2 separate regions of the Homo sapiens genome follow, and region 2 is linked to region 1. The links are contacts of gene promoters, found by promoter capture Hi-C in blood cells and fetal thymus (Javierre and others, 2016). All regions are on one chromosome and are shown on one strand. Each heading gives the region's core, a stretch centred on a gene start or on the middle of the fragment in contact. The rest is flanking DNA. Distances are from core to core; before and after follow the strand shown.

Region 1 (7,872 bases), core at 2,254-4,753:
CCTCCTGCAGCCCGGCTCCCGCGGCCGCGCCTGGTGCCCCTCTGTCTCGCGCCACCTGAGATGCCCAGGCTGGCCTCTGCCAGGGGCTTAGTCTGCCCTCTCCTGGGGCTTCAGAGGCCAAAAGCACCCTGGTGAGGGGTCCGGGAGGCCCGGGAGGGCCCGGGGGGCTCTGCCAGGCCCCTCCACGCCTCTCTGCCCAGCCAGCACGCTCTGGGAAGGTAAGGCAGCCCTTCCCCTTATAACTAACCTCAGAACATTCCCAGGTGGCTGGAAGGCCACTGGACAACATGGCCCTGCTGACAAGAGAGACAATGGGGAAACTGAGGCCTGTGTGGGGCACAAAGCTGGGACCAGAGCTCCAGCTTCCTGCCCCTGCCGGGCCTCCACCTCTGACACCACCCCAGGCAGGGTGAAGCCCTGGGCTCCAGACCTTCCAGTGCCCAGATGAGGACAGGCGCAGGCCTTGGGGTGGCCACACTCTCCCACCAGGTCTCCCCCTCTGTGCTGGGCCCCTGAGGTGAGGGGAGGAGGCCAGGCGTGGGGCCCGGCCTGGCTTCTGTGGGGCTGGAGCCTGGGCAGGAGGCACTGCTGACTCCCAAAATGATTCCCTGCTGAAGGTCTGTGCCATGATCCCAAACACACACCACCAGAGCGGCCAGGGCAGGGAAGGGGGCACCTCCAAGGACCGGAGGGTGAGGGAGGGGCCCGCCTGCCCCTTGCTGAGCCCCTGGGCCTTGGGCACAGAGTGTGCTCCACCCATACCAGAACCCGGGGGCAGCCCCAACCCCCTGGACCCCCAGTACCCTCTGGCGTCCAAGAACCCATGTCTGTCCCCTGCCAACCCCCCGCCCCTCCTGTCCCCGCTGGGCCCCCGACATTAGGGCAAGGCCGCAGCCCACCTCCTGTACCTGCCTCTGAGGCTCCAGGAGCCCAAGAGAGTGGAGTGCCCCTCCTGTGGTGGCTCCAGGCTATGGGATAGGGCAAAGCTGGCACTCTGGGCCTGAGCCCAGGCCTCCTTCCCTTGGGGAGGGTCTAGTCTTGGCCTGGGGAGGGGCTGGGGGCAGGGCAGAGCTTATCAGGAGGGGGTTGCAGTGAAGAACAAGTTGGCAGCAGGCGGTGCCCAGCCCCCCAGGCTGTCACCCAGGAGTCCAGTGCCAGGAGGACAGCCTGGGGAGGACGCAGACTCTGCCCTCGCCCCTTGCCTGTAAGCACAGCAGTCAGTTCACCGGGAAGGCCCCCAGCGGGCCAAGCCTTAGCAACTCGTGCACTCGGCTACTTAGCTATTCCTGCCCCGAGCTGTCCCCTGGCCGGATAGGTCTGATGACAGGGGCTGCTCCAGGTTGGGACATAGGACAAGCTGGGGTGGGGGACATGGGGCTCCCCAAGAAGAGGAAGGAAGGGTGAGGCAGCCTCCTGTGCCGAGCATCCCAGCCCTGTCCGGCCTCCAGGCTCACCTGGGCCGGTCACTTCTCCCTCTGGGCCTCAGTTTCCCCCTCTGTACACAGAAAGGGCTGGATCTAGCCCACCCCATGCTTGTGGGTCCTTCCACCAGGAGGCCAGGGCAGATCCAGGGGCATGCAGGTGGGGGAGGAGGGGGCAGGCCGCAGGGATGCAGGCAGAGGGCAAGAGGGCACCTCCTGGGATGGGGGCACAAGCCTACTGGGCCCCTATACGGTGGAGTAGCTAAGTAGCCGAGTGCACGAGTTGCTAAGGCTTGGCCCGCTGGGGGCCTTCCCGGTGAACTGACTGCTGTGCTTACAGCCAGGGGCGAGGGCAGAGTCTGGGTCCTCCCCAGGCTGTCCTCCTGGCACTGGACTCCTGGGTGACAGCCTGGGGGACTGGGCCCGGCCTGCTGCCAACTTGTTCTTCACTGCAACCCCCTCCTGACAGCTGGAGGGACAGGCTGGCCAGGGCAGGATGAGCCCCTGGGTGGGAGAGCCAGGGGGCCGAGGGAGGCACAGGGCGGCTGAGGGTGCAGCCAGTAGGGTAAGGGCCAGATCCCAGGGTGGCCTAGTGTGGAGGAGGTGGGGAAATGGGGTTCTGCCTATCTGCTCCAACCTCAGGGCAGGGGCCACCTCTGGAAAGAGGCCCCTCCCGCTCAGACCAGCGGTGCCTGGGTGCCAGGAGCGCCCCCTTAAACCAGCTCAGTGACCATGAAGCAGGTGCAGAAACAGGCCCGGAGAAGAGTGAGGTCCTGCCTGGCTGAGGCCCTGAGCCCTGACCACAGCCTGGCGCCCAGAGCAGACCCTTCCCCTGGCCGTGGGTAGAGGGGAGCTGGTTCCTGCTTGAGGGGGAGGCGCATCGCGTGTGGGTGAGGTTTCCACCTGCCCTCCAAAGTCCCGTGGGGAATTTCCCCAGCTGCCCCAGCCTCCCTTGGCTCAAGTTGCCCAGCTGAGTGGGGCTGGAGAGGTGGGGGCACACTGACCGCCCAGGGCCAGGGAAATGGGGGTGTCCCAGGCATCAGGCCGACAGGGGCTGACCCCAAAGCAGGGCTCACACCCCACGGACAGCGGGGTTGGGAGAGGCCCTGCTCTCCTGGGGTTCCAGGCGTGCCCTCCAAAGCCACCCAGCTCCCTTCGGCACCGTGTCCCCTCCCACCCAGCCCACCTTTGCCACAGTGGCTCGCTCGGCCTGAGGCTCCCACTGCCGTGTGAACAGGGAAGATGAGGGTCAGACCTGGAGGCTGGGACGCCGGGAATCTGACAGAGCACCCCCTGTGATCACCCACAGTGTCCCGCATCCCTCCCCACACCCCCGGCCGCAGCCTGCTGCCAGCCCAGAGCACCCCTGTGAAGTGGGGCTGAGGGCATTGGGCCTGCTTGCCCATCTCCAGGGCAGGGGCTCACAGCCTCACTGGCAGCTCTTTTAGGGGAGAGAGCTTGGACTCCATGCTTGTCCCCTCCCGTCACCCCCTCACCATGGGCCTCAGGGACCCACGGAACAGGCTGTTCTCGGACCGCTCAGCCTGTCTTGCCACCCCAGTCCCTTCCTGCCGGGCCTCGCCACTCGCCATCCCTCACTGGTCAAGGCTCCTGTGTGGCTGGTCCCTGCCTTGGCCTGGGGCCCCTCCAAGCTCCCGTGCTGTGTCACACACATCTGGGGGTGTCCTGGGGGAGGGCCCAGCATCCTTGGCCCAAAGATGCAGCAGCTCCCTTCTGTCCAGCCACACGTGAGCATGGCCTGTGAACCCACGGTCCTGGGAGGGCCCTGGGCTTGCGTCCTCCACCCCACACTCTCCCCAGGGTCTCCAGCAGGGTCCAGCCCTGGTTTCTGGCTGTTTTGGGGCTAGACTCTGATGGCCCAGGGGACGGCTTCCCCACCCCTGGGCAGTTTGTCCAGGCCCCCTCACACGGTGGCCCCCACCCCCCTCAGCCTCCTGTTTGTCCGACGACACGTCCCCGTTATCAGCGGAGAACACACACAGGAAGTCCGGCTGGGAAGGGCCCATCCCAATCCCGATTACCCAGGACGGAGCATAAAAAGCCGCCCTTCCTCGCCCGGGGGGAGCCTCCCTGCACCAAGCTGGCCCTGCACGGCTGCAAGGGAGGCTCCTGTGGACAGGCCAGGCAGGTGGGCCTCAGGAGGTGCCTCCAGGCGGCCAGTGGGCCTGAGGCCCCAGCAAGGGCTAGGGTCCATCTCCAGTCCCAGGACACAGCAGCGGCCACCATGGCCACGCCTGGGCTCCAGCAGCATCAGGTATGGCAGGGGTGGCCTCGGAGGGGCAGGGAGCGGACAGGGCGGGCCCCCCATTCCCCTCACTCCCGCTGACCGTGGCGCCTGCTGGCTGCTCCGCAATCTGCTCCCCAGCGAGGTCACAGGGGAGGGGTCCCAGTCTCCTCCCCTTCTGCACAGAGGAGGCCACTGAGGCCCCTTGGCCAAACGCCTGCTAGTGGGTGGCCCAGCGTAGATCCCAATCCAGTCTGCTGACTCCAACACTTCACCCCCAGTCGCCCTTCCCCTGAACCCCACCCTCTGGCCTTTCTCTCCCTCCGCAGAGCAGCCCCTGTGGTTGGCAGCAAAGTTCAGCTTGGCTGGGCCCGCTGTGAGGGGCTTCGCGCTACGCCCTGCGGTGTCCCGAGGGCTGAGGTCTCCTCATCTTCTCCCTAGCAGTGGATGAGCAACCCAACGGGGGCCCGGGGAGGGGAACTGGCCCCGAGGGAGAGGAACCCCAAAGCCACATCTGTAGCCAGGATGAGCAGTGTGAATCCAGGGTGCGGGACGTGGGGCTCGGGCTTAGGGATGACTTGCTGGGTGCGGTGGGCAAATGGGTGACTCTGTGGGCCCCCCTTGGACCCTGGAGACGCCCTTGTTCTCCCTCTCCCCAGCCTCATGCAGAGTGGCTGAAGCCCCATCCCAAAGCCCCCAAAACCACAGTGGGTCCTAGAAGGCCCCACTTTTTGTCTCATACGTCCACACCAAGAAGCCTGTCTGAGAACCCCCACTTTCCAAATGGTGCCTAGCCAGGATGGGGGCAGCGAGGGCTGAGTCGGGGCAGCCCTGGAGCTGCCCTTTCTGCTCCATCGCCTCTTCCAGACTCAGGCAGGAGAGGTGGGGAGGCAGGTCAAAGGGTTAAGTGACCGCAGATCCAGAGATGAGGCCAGGGGCAGGGGACAGGGAGGGTGGCGGTGGCTCTCCCACCCAGAGGCCCCCTAGGCCCCACTCTGAACACTTCACTGCTGGGGGCTAGGTAAGAGCTGCCCTGCGTGGGCTCAGGGCGCCAGGAGGCCTAGGACTCCCCAGTCAGATGAGGAACGCCCCCTGACAGCAGCTGCTCTGGTCGTCCCTTGGACCACGTGCCAGGGGCTTCCAGGGCCCCTGGTCCAGAGCAGTGGCCACTGGATTGCAGGGTGGGGCGGCCTCATTTTGGGGACTCCTCTCCAGGGACCTGGGCCCCTCCCTTCCTCCAGCTCCCATGCACCAAGGTAGGACCAAGCTGGTGGCCCTCTCGGACCCATCTGCAGGCCCCTTGCCCAGCACCCTGGGTTACATGGAGAGACCTCCAGCTCCACTCACAGCAGCCTCCCATCCCCATGCCAGGGAGTCCAGGGCTGGAGGCAATAACCCCATTTTACTGAGGCCAGGGGCTGCGGATCCGAGAGGACAATCAGCTCAGGACAGGATGGGGTCGGGGTAGGTGCAGGACAGGGGCCTGTAGGCCTAGTGCAGGCGGAGGTCCCACAGCAGCACCGAAAGCTGGTCCCGGGCCCCTTCCCAGCCCCCAGACATCAGGGTGACCAGGACTGTGCATAGGCACTAACCCACAACTCCTCTCCAACCAGCAGCCCCCAGGACCGGGGAGGCACAGGTGGCCCCCACCACCCGGAGGAGCAGCTCCTGCCCCTGTCCGGGGGATGACTGATTCTCCTCCGCCAGGTGAGTCCCAGCAAACCCCTTGCTCCGAGGGAACACTTCTCACACCGGCGCCCACGCGGGTTATGACACAGGGCGCTGGCTCCGGCTGGGGTCTGAGGGGCTGCTGAATTGGGCTGGCCCGAGCCCCACGTGCCGCGCCCGCAGTAACAGCTGTAACAATTGTTGTGTGGCCACGACCTCACCGTCACTAGATCCCAGGGCTGTTTAGCCCCATCTTATAAATTTGGAAATGGAGGCCTGGAGAAGAGAGGTGACCAGCCCAGGGACCTCTGGTGTGAGGAGACTCTCTGGGGGCCTGTGGATTCGCTGGGAGGAGTGTTCTGCGATGGCCCTGACTGTGCTGAACTCAGCAGTGACCCAGTGACCCCGGTGAGGGTGCCTGATGCCTGAGAGAGGGCCAGGTGGGGGCCGGCGCAGGGGCCCCCAACCTAACACGCTAAGGCTAGGAGGCAGGCCTGGGCTCTGCCATGTGGTCTCAGAGGAGATCTGGGTCTCTGGGCCTGCGGTGGGGACGGTCATGATGCCCACTGCCTGCGAGGCTGCAGGACCCAGCTCAGTGCTAACCTGCGCCGGGCGCCTACCGCGCGGCCCCCCAGCGGCTGAGATGGGCGTCCCGGGGTGGTTTTCAGCCTGGGGGGCTTGAAAGCTAGCAAAGGGCCCGCAGCCCCGTCAGTGTGGGCGCCCTGGGCGGCCTCTCCTGGCTCCTGGCGGCCGGGCTTGGTCGTGCGTCCCCAGCGACCGCGCAGCGAGCGCCCTGCCGCGGGGACTCGGGCCCCAGGATTCCCGGAGGGGGTGCTGGCGGGCCGCGGCTCAGAGGCGCGTTTGCGTCAGCCCCGGGTTCCAGCAGAGTCACTGCCCGCCCGGGGGCAGCTCGTCCGCCGCGGGGCCTCAGTTTCCCCGTCTGCGCAATGGGGGCGGGGCGGGGCCGCCAGGTGGGGCGGGGCCGGGGGCGGGGCGGGGCGGGGCTCGGGGCCCCCACGGCGCGGGCTCGGGCGGCAGTGGCGGCGGCGCGTGCGCGCCCCGGATCCGGCGGTGAGTGCGGAGCGAGCGGGGCGCGCCGGGGTCGGGGTCCGGTCGCCGCCCGGGCTGGGTCGAGGGCGGGACCCGCGGAGCCCCCGGGGGCGGGGAACCTGGCCGCGCGCGGAGCTGGGGGCGGCTCCGGGACGAGGCAGCGCGACCGCTGGGGCCGGGGGCGGAGCGGGCCGGGGCGCCCGCGGCTGGGTCGGGCCGGGCCGGGAGAATGGGCCCAGCGGCCCCGGGAACCGGCTCCCCCTGCCGGCGGCGGGCGGGCGGGCGGCGCGGCGGGGAGGGCCGGGGTCGCCGCGGCCCCTCGTCCGACCCGGCGCGACTCAGCGCCTCGGGGCCCAGCCTGTGCCGCCTGCTCCGCCCCCCGCGAACCCCGGAGCCAGCAGCGCGGCTGGGAGGGGGCGGCGGGCAGGTCCGTCTCGCTCCGCCTCTGCGCCCTCCCTCGTGGGCCCCGCGGTCCCCAGCCCTGCTCCCGCCGCGAGGGGTCCGCCAGTGCCTGCGGCGCAGCCAGGCCCCTCCCTCTGCGGACCCGGCCTCTCGCGGGTGGGGGCTGCGGGGCTGCTGCCGGGCAGGTGGGGAGGGAGCCCGTGGGCGCTGGGGGCACGGGGACCGGACTGCTGGTCCACCTGGCGCCGCCGCCCCCTCCCCGCCCGGCACCCCTGGGTCGAGGCCGTGGCCCCCCCCGGGGAAATGGGGCTTGCAGCACCGGCTCGGAGAGCACCACGGGCTTCCTCTGGCCTCGGGAAAACATGACTTTCAAAAATTGAGTCTCCACTTAGCACCGCTTCCTGTCCAGGCGACTCTCAGGAATTGTGGGGGGGAGCTGTGCCAATATGTGTGGGGGGCAATGAGGTCTGGGAGATTCGCCTACCCCCAGGCCCGCCCTGGCATCCCCCTGCCCACATCAAGCCGCCGGGCCGCTGCCCTACCTCTTCCTTCCCGGGTCCCACTCCCCAATGTCCCCCGACTTCGAGTCTTGCCTTGAGGTCGCACCAGACCCAGCCCCTAACAGTGTCCTTCATCCAGGGCCCATCCCCAGAGTTAATCTCCAGCCAGCTCTGCCCCCTCGACAAACTCCTGCCCAAAAACTGCTGTGATGCCCCCCCTGCCCCCAAGCTAAGTCCCCACCCCTCAGCTGCCCAGGGCAGCCTCTGCCTAGTTGGCAGCCTCTGCCCTGCCCTCCTCTCTCCAGCGCACAGAGGACTGGAGGCCCAGGAAGGACCCCCAGCCACCCTCCCCGCTGGGACCGGGTGATGCCTTGGCAGTGCCCGTGGGAAGCAGGTGTGGGATCGTGCTCCACACCCAGTGGGGCTGGCCAGCAGCGACTGAGGACAGTGTGACTATTTATAGGACTGGCTGTCAGAGCTGAGGAGGGGCCTCAGAGACCCTATTCTAGTGTGTGAGGAAACTGAATCCCAGAGAAGGGACAGCCTTACCCCAGCCTCTGCCCCGACCCGAAGCCTGGCCTTTCCC
Region 2 (7,872 bases), core at 1,123-3,622, 180 kb before region 1:
GTGGAGGGTTCCTGCACCCTACACCCGAGCCCATCCAGCCTCTGGGCCATAGACCCTTCCGTTGAAGGCCCAGCCTGCCCCTGAGACGCTGTGTGCCCTTTTTCAACTTCCTTAGTCTCTGAGCATCAGGTCTTCATCTCTAAGATAGAGCAAGATGAGCACCTAAACGTTTCAGGGCTGAAATGGGGTTGCCAGGACAACAAGCATGGCAGGGGCGAATGGGGACATCAGGTGACTGACTGCGAGCCAGCAGAGGCCTCCACCCAGTGCTGGGAGGTGTCCCGCCGGTGGTGGCCATCACTATTCCTGGTGGGGCTTTGCTGCTTTTGCCTGCAGCATCCGCTGGTTTCTCCATTCTCCAAGTCTCTGCCCCTGCTCACACCTGGAGGCTGGACACAAGTGTCACCACTTCCCTGAACCCCCCTAGGTGGGCTGGAATCAGCATCTGGTGCAAAGCTCTGTGACCACTGCTGTACCACATTATGCAGAGCACACAGGACAGGCTGGTGCACCTCCAGGCTGTGCCAGGAAACCCGCTGCCTTTGCGTCACCACAGCCTTGGTCACAGCGTGACCTTGGTGCCTCCGACGGGTCAGCTCCTCCCATTAGCCATGCTGTCCAGCACGGGGGCCGCTGGTGCTTGCTGTGAGACTGAGCTGGGCTCTGAGTGTAAACTACATGGTAGGTTGTGAAGGATGCAAATATCGAATCAATCATTTTTTATTGCATATTAAAATGACAATATCTTGGATGTATCAGATTAAACAAAATACTATTTAATTTTATTTCACCTGTTTCTTTTGTTTTTGACATAGCTGCTGGGAAATGTAAAACTCCACATGGGGCTGGTGTTACATTTCCACTGGACAGTGTTGGTCTAGAAGGCAGGCACTCAGCACCCCTAGCCTGTGCTTATAGCCTCCTATGATAGGGGCCTGAAATGCCAGAGGCTGATGGGTGGACCTGGCTCTTTGCTGACAACTGGCGGGCCAGTGGCGGTCCTCCAGGGAGCCCCCAGCAGAGCAGCAGTCTCAGTGAACGCAGGACGGCCCCTCACTGTGAGCTTCTGCTCCTCTTTCCTACCTGGTGTAAAATAGCAGTGGCGAGTATGTCTGGGTGCTTGTGGAGGTTTACTGGGCAGGCCTGCTCCCTGCCGGACACTGTCCTCAGCCCCTGACACAGACCCTTAGTCCTGGACGCTGAAGCTGGAGGCTTGGCCTGGAGAGAGGAAGGGGCAGTCTCTGTGAGACGGTTAGCTGGGTGGTCCAGGCAAAAAAACATATGAAGGCCTCCAAGGTGGAGAGCACTGACACGGAGCTCTTCCTGGAGGAGGAGGGAATAGGGCTGGGAAGCTGGAATCAGGGGAGAGGAAGCAGATCTGGAGGCAGGGTCCGTAGAGTTTGTTCTGTGGCGTTTGTTCATCAGGCCCCTGCAGGGGTTCCCTGTCAGCATGCCACCAGGCTGGCCAGAGGGTGGGCCAGGCTTCCTCTTCTTACCCTCATAGAGGAGAGGAAGTCACCTCTGTGAGGGGAAGGCCAGACCCCCAGGGCCATGGTGGGCAGTGTGGAGGGAGCTTCAGTCCCACTCACTTCCATGCACAAGGCCTGCCAAGCACACAGCATAGGGTCCGCAAACATGCTCACCACGCTGCCACCCCCTTCCCGTGTTCTACTCACCTCTGAGCCCCACCCTAACCTGGAGTGCTCGCCCGGTGTGCTCGCCAGGGGTGTGCAGCGAGACAGCACTGTCCACTTTCTAGGCCTTCCCAGGGCTGACATGAGGCTGAAGGTGCATCCCCGCCCTGGCACATGTGCCCTTGCTCTCGGCTGCTGGGGAATGGGTCCCACAGCGCCTCCTCCCAGCACAGGCAAAGGCATCTCCTTTTGGGCGCCCACCTGGCTAGCAGAGCACAGGTAAGATGGCTCCAGCAATGGTGGGCTAACTACCGTGTGTCCAGCTGTACTGCAAGCTTCCAGAAGTCAGAGACCCTCAGCCACTACCCAGGTGTTCAGCCTTGGGCAAGCTACCTGGCCTTTCCAAGCCTCTGCCTCCTCCCCTGTAAAAGAAGGTGACAGCCTTGCCCTTTCCCGGCCTCCTGCAAGGACTTCCTGGACCTGACCTCACAGGGTGGCAAGCGTATCCTCCACACCAGGCCTCCCCGGAGGCACAGGGCACATTGACGGCATTGCCAGCAGCCTCGTTACTGCAGGAGCGTCATGCTCCTCATCTCCAGCATCTTCAAGCATGTTGGGCACATAGCAGGTCTCAGAGAACATTTTTCTGGAATCATTGAGCCAAGTACTTACCATGTAAGGTGCTAAAAAGCACTAGGAATGAAGCAGAAAGCTCAAGGCTGATGTCGATGTCACAGTAACCTGGGACCGCAGGCCCCCAGGGCCACAGGAGGAACTGCTGGCTGTCCTTGAGCTGAGGCAGGGTCTTGGTAAGCTCACGAGTCCTCTATCCCCAAACCATGCACAGATGTCTGCTGAGTCCCTGCTGTACCCCAGGCACTGCTAGGAGCTGGGCTGTGGCCGTGAGACAGACAAGCCCAGACTCTGCCTCCGGGGAACATGGATGCTGGCTGGCCACAGAGGTGCCCATACAGAGGGCACCATGCAGTGTCTGCTGGGGACAGGCAGGAGGAGAAGGAGCATTTCTGGCTGAAGTGAACAGTCCACATGAGGCTTCTGCGGGGTGAGCGGCCAGTGGGCGTAGGCTAGTGTGGACTCTGTAGGCTTGCTAAGAGACCCGCAGGTGGTGTCTGGAAGTATAGGAAGCTTCCAGAGGCTTTTCAGCCAGGAGCGATGCAACCAGTTTGGGCCCCAAAGGCTCTCCAGGTTAGGGTTCGAGCTAGGGGCTAGGGAGAGCCAGGGCCCAGGAGGCAGCCTTGGGTGGCCTAGGAGAAAGAGGCGCTGAACCCAGGAGAGTCCCCAAGAACCCGGGAGAGTCCCCGAGGGCACAACCCCAGCACAGCACGGGGTTCACACACAGCAGGCAGGAGACAGTCCTGAGCATTGAGTGATGATTTAAGTGGTGGACATGGACTTGGTGGCCTGGGGACTGTAGATAGGGAAGAGAAAAGGGCCCGGGTGGAGCTGGGAAGAGCTCCAGTATTCGATGCCAGGCCAGTCGTGGCATTAACTCCTGGCAAAGTATCCGATGCCAGGCTGGCCATGGTATTGACTCCTGGCAAAGTGGCCCAACAACCCCCTTCTCCCCTCTGAGCAGCCGTCTCCCTGTCTGAAAAGTCACCAGGCTGGATGGCATCAACTCTACAGGCCTTCCTGCTCCTCTGAGGGCAGGTGACTCCTCGTGGTTTGACACGGACCGGGAATCACATAGCCCTGGCTCAGTGAATGGGCGAACTTGGCTAAGTCGCCTAACCTCTTTGAGCCCCAGCTTCCTCATGTGTAAAACAGGATAATAGCAGTGTCGCGGGGGATGGCCCTGGGCGTGGGGTGAGGGCCATTTCTGCCCTGTGGTCACTCGGGAGGACCTGTGGGGCGCTGGCAGAGCAGTGCCACCAGGGGGAGGCAGAGAGCCGCCTCTGAGTCGGCCAAAGTAACAGGTGCACGCTTGCCAGGTGAGGTTGCTCCCATCTGTCGTCTCAGCATTTTGGGAGGCCAAAGTGGGAGGATCACTTGAACCTAGGGGTTTGAGACCAGCCTGGGCAACATAGCAAGATTCCATCTCCACAAAAAGAAAAAAAAGTAAAGTTATACACTTTTCTTTTTTTTTTTTGAGACCGAGTCTCACTGTATCCCCCAGGCTGGAGTGCAGTGGTGCAATCTCAGCTCACTGCAACCTCCTCCTTCCGAATTCAAGCAATTCTCCTGCCTCAGCCCCCCCAAGTAGCTGAGATTCTAGGTGCCCACCATGGTGCCCAGCTAATTTTTGTATTTTTAGTGGAGAGGGGGGTTTCACCAGTTGACCAGGCTGGTGTGGAACTCCTGACCACAGGTGATCCTCTCGCCTCGGCCTCCCGAAGTGCTGGGATGACAGGTGTGAGCCACCACGCCTGGCCGTAGTTATAACTTTTCTAAGGTTCATTTTATTAAATGGAAAAATGCCAAACAGAACGACAAAGGCTGTGGTAGAATGTGCACGTTTGTGTGGACCCAGGGCACATTTTCACCAGAAAATCCCGTGCGATAGAGTGGAAGATATACCAAAAGCCACAGCAAATATCACGCGTGACTCCGCAGAAAATTATAGATTCCTAACAAACACTGAGAGTGTGTCCTGTGCTGTAAGGTCCAGGGATGGGCCACAAGTTCAAGGTTGTGTGAAGAACAACGGAAACCCACCTCTGAGGCCCTGGGCACCTGGCACCTGTCGTGTTGGGCATGAATAAAGCTTCGCAGCTCAGTCCTGCAATCTCCATGAGCCTAGACTTGTCCATCTTAAAATGTAGACGGTTAGGACACCTGCTGAAGGGGCCGCCAGGCTTAACTGTGCCAACACGGCATGCAGGTGGAGAACAAAGAATGCGATTGAAAACCTCCTAACGATAACAAGAGCTGTTCCCTTTCTGAGCCCTCACCCCATGCCCAGCGTGCACCAGCAGCTCACCATCGCAGGCCCAGGGCCAGCACCCAGGTCCCCACTTGACCCACGAGGACACTGAGGTACAGCAACAGCCAGGACAGCAGCCGCCAGGTGGAAAGCAAAGACACAAAGCAGCCAGATCGGGAGTCACGTCGGGGCAGGCGACTGAGGCGCCACCCAGCCACCTTCAAGATGCAGATTGAAGAACAGCCTTTCCCAAAGCTCGCTCACTCACTGACCCTGCGTCTTCGTCTGCAAAGCCTGAGTAACGTGGGAGGCCCTGCAACGCCCCCTCTGAGAGACCTCCACTAACGCCAGCACTTTTTTTTTTTTTTTTTTTTTTTTTTTTTTTTTTTGTGAGAGTGTCTTGCTCTGTCGCCCAGGCTGGAGTGCAGAGGCATGATCTCTGCTCACTGCAAGCTCCGCCTCCCAGGTTCACGCCATTCTCCTGCCTCAGCCTCCCAAGTAGCTAGGACTACAGGCGCCTGCCACCACGCCCGGCTAATTTTTTGTATTTTTTAGTAGAGACGGGGTTTCACCGTGTTAGCCAGGATGGTCTCAATCTCCTGACCTTGTGATCCACCCGCCTCAGCCTCCCAAAGTGCTGGGATTACAGGCGTGAGCCACCACGCCTGGCCAACGCCAGCACTTTCAACGCACCGGGACCAAGCTGGACCCGGTTTTGTTTTGAAACACTTTTACTTTTGCAGACGAATACGTCGGTGTCCCACCAGGAACCGCTGCTGGTGGATGCTCACCACGGGAAACAGCCGCGTGACGCTCCCCCTTGTCTGCCTCTGCCCAGTGCTGCCCCCTCCAGCAGAGCTCCTCATGTGTGGTTCGTGGATTTGGGTCCACGATGAGATAAGGAGCCACACAGAACGAAATCAGTCCACCGCTGAGCACGCAGTTGAGCCCCACGGACACCCTTTGCAAGTGAGACTTTTGGGATGAAGGCAGCACAGGCCTGTCGATCCCTGGAGCAGCCCGGGGGCTACGGCACCGTGCTTCCCTCTTGGATGGAGGCAGCCCTGCCTGCCGGGGGCCTGATTTGTGGGCCCTGATGAGTTGGTGCCTCCGGGCTCTTGGGACCCTCCTTTGCTCTATCCAGAGGGACGCAGCGCCACACTCGGGGTTCACGCCGGCAGCGGCGTGGAGTGAGTCACCAGGCTGAAGATACACTTGGTGTTTTCCTGCGCTGGGTGGAACTGTCTGGAGCCCCCTTGGCATCCTGCTGAAGAGTCCGAATCTGGACGTGAGCCTCCTGGAGATACTGAACACCTTTTAAAGTGTGGCCAGGCCCAATCTAGGGTGCTGTGAGTGTACTGTACATCCTGGGTTTCAAAGACACAGTACCAAAAACAAACAAACAAAAAGAATATAAAACATCTCATTCACGGCCGGGCGTGGTGGCTTACGCCTATAATCCCAGCACTTTGGGAGGCCGAGGTGGGCCGATCACGAGGTCAAGAGATCAAGACCAGCCTGGCCAACATGGTGAAACCCCCTCTCTACTAAAAATACAAAAATTAGCTGGGCGTGGTGGCAGGTGCCTGTAATCCCAGCTACTCGGGAGGCTGAGGCAGGAGAATCGCTTGAACCCGGGAGGCGGAAGTTGCAGTGAGCTGAGATCGCACCACTGCACTCCAGCCTGGGTGACAGAGGGAGACTCTGTCTCAAAAAACAAAAAACAACAAAAAAAAACTCATTCACTTTTTATGTTGTGTTAAAATAATATTTTTGATATATTGGATTAACTAAGCTGTAGTATTAATATACACTTTGCCTGTTTCTTTTTACCTTTTTAATGTGGCTACTGAAATATTTAAAGTTGCATATGTGGCCAGGCGCAGTGGCCCACACCTGTAATCCCAGCACTCTGGGAGGCCAAGGTGAGGAGAGGACTGCATGAGCTCAGGAGTTCGAGACCAACCTGGGCAACAAAGTGAGACCCCATCTCTGCAAAAAATAACAAAAAAATTGGGTGGGTGAGGTGGTGTGCACCTGTAATCCCAGCTGCTAGAGAGACCAAGGTGGGAGGATCACCTGGGCCCAGGAGGTTGAGGCTGCAATAAGCTATCATGGCACCACTGCACTCCAGCCTGGGTGACAGAGCAAGACCCTGTCTCAAAAACTTTTTTTAATTAAAAAAAAAAAATAACATATTGAGGTGAGACTCACAGAACCTAAAATTAACCACTTTAAAGTGTACGAGTTAGGCCAGGTGCAGTGGCTCACGCCTGTAACCTCAGCACTTTAAGAGGCCGAGGCGGGTGGATCACTTGAGATCAGGAGTTTGAAACCAGCCTGGCCAACATGGTGAAACCCAATCTCTACTAAAAATACAAAAAAATTAGCCGGGTGTGGTGGTAGGGGCCTGTAATCCCAGTTACTTTGGAGGCTGAGGCAGGAGAATCACTTGAACACAGAGGCGGAGGTTGCAGTGAGCCAAGATCACGCCACCACATTCCAGCCTGGGTGACAGAGCGAGACTCCGTCTCAAAAAAAAAAAAAAAAAGTGTCCGCGTTATTGGCATTTAGTGCACTCGAAGGGCTGTGCACGCACCACCTCTCCCTGGGCCCAGAACATTTGCGTCACTCCAAAGTAAAACCCCGGGCCGTCTTCATCCACGTCCCTACAAAGGACATGAACTCATCATTTTTTATGGCTGCATAGTATTCCATGGTATATATGTGCCACATTTTCTTAATCTAGTCTATCATTGTTGGACATTTGGGTTGGTTCCAAGTCTTTGCTATTGTGAACAGTGCCACAATAAACTAAAACTTAAAGTATAAAAACAAAACAAAACAAAAAAAAACCCCGGGCCGTTTAGCAGCCACTCCCCTTTCCTCCTCCCCCCGGCTCTGGGAACCATCAATCTACTTTCTGTCTCCATGGGTTCGGTGACCACAGGCACCCCATAGAAATGGAGTCACTGCACCTGCGGCCCTTTGCGGCCGGCACCCTTCACTGAGCACCGTGCTTCCAAGGCTTGTCCGCATGGTGGGTGTCAGCGCCTCCTTTTCTACGGTGGAATCATATTCCCTCGTGCGCATTCGTCAGGGTTCTTCCGGCAAGCGGAGCCCATAAGACGTGCCACTGGAGAGGTTATTGCAGGGAATTGGCCACACGACCTCGAGGCCTGCAGTTCCCAGGGTCTGCAGTTGCAGGCAGGAGGCCTGATGGCGTTGCGAGTCCGAAGGCCGGTGGGCTCCAGGCCCAGGAAGAGCCCACGTTTTCAGTCCAAGTCTGAAGGCAGGAAAAGACCAATGTCCAGTGCAAGCGGTTGGGTGGGAGGACCCCTGGCACTCGGCCTA

The links. Contacts are between HindIII fragments. The CHiCAGO score rates a contact against its expected background, and 5 or more counts as called.
Region 2: a contact is called between a fragment that was not itself captured here and the fragment with the promoter of EGFL7 in region 1, in 13 of 17 cell types (M1 macrophages, activated CD4 T cells, M0 macrophages and 10 more). The highest score is 9.9, in M1 macrophages.

The regions. Positions count from the first base shown.
Region 1 is chr9:136,659,413-136,667,284 of GRCh38, forward strand. It overlaps EGFL7 (EGF like domain multiple 7), which reads left to right and starts at 3,504. Exons shown (of 11, transcript NM_016215.5): 1 at 3,504-3,696; 2 at 3,996-4,211; 3 at 5,280-5,373. It overlaps LNCEGFL7OS (lncRNA EGFL7 opposite strand), which reads right to left and starts at 1,009. Exons shown (of 2, transcript NR_135132.1): 1 at 909-1,009. The HindIII fragment of the contact is 14,697 bases long and covers 1-7,872 here.
Region 2 is chr9:136,485,283-136,493,154 of GRCh38, forward strand. C9orf163 (chromosome 9 putative open reading frame 163) reads left to right here. Exons shown (of 1, transcript NR_172629.1): 1 at 1-785. Among named protein-coding and RNA genes, the nearest start is that of C9orf163, 5.7 kb to the left of the region's middle. RefSeq lists a silencer at 3,579-3,628. The HindIII fragment of the contact is 811 bases long and covers 1,968-2,778 here.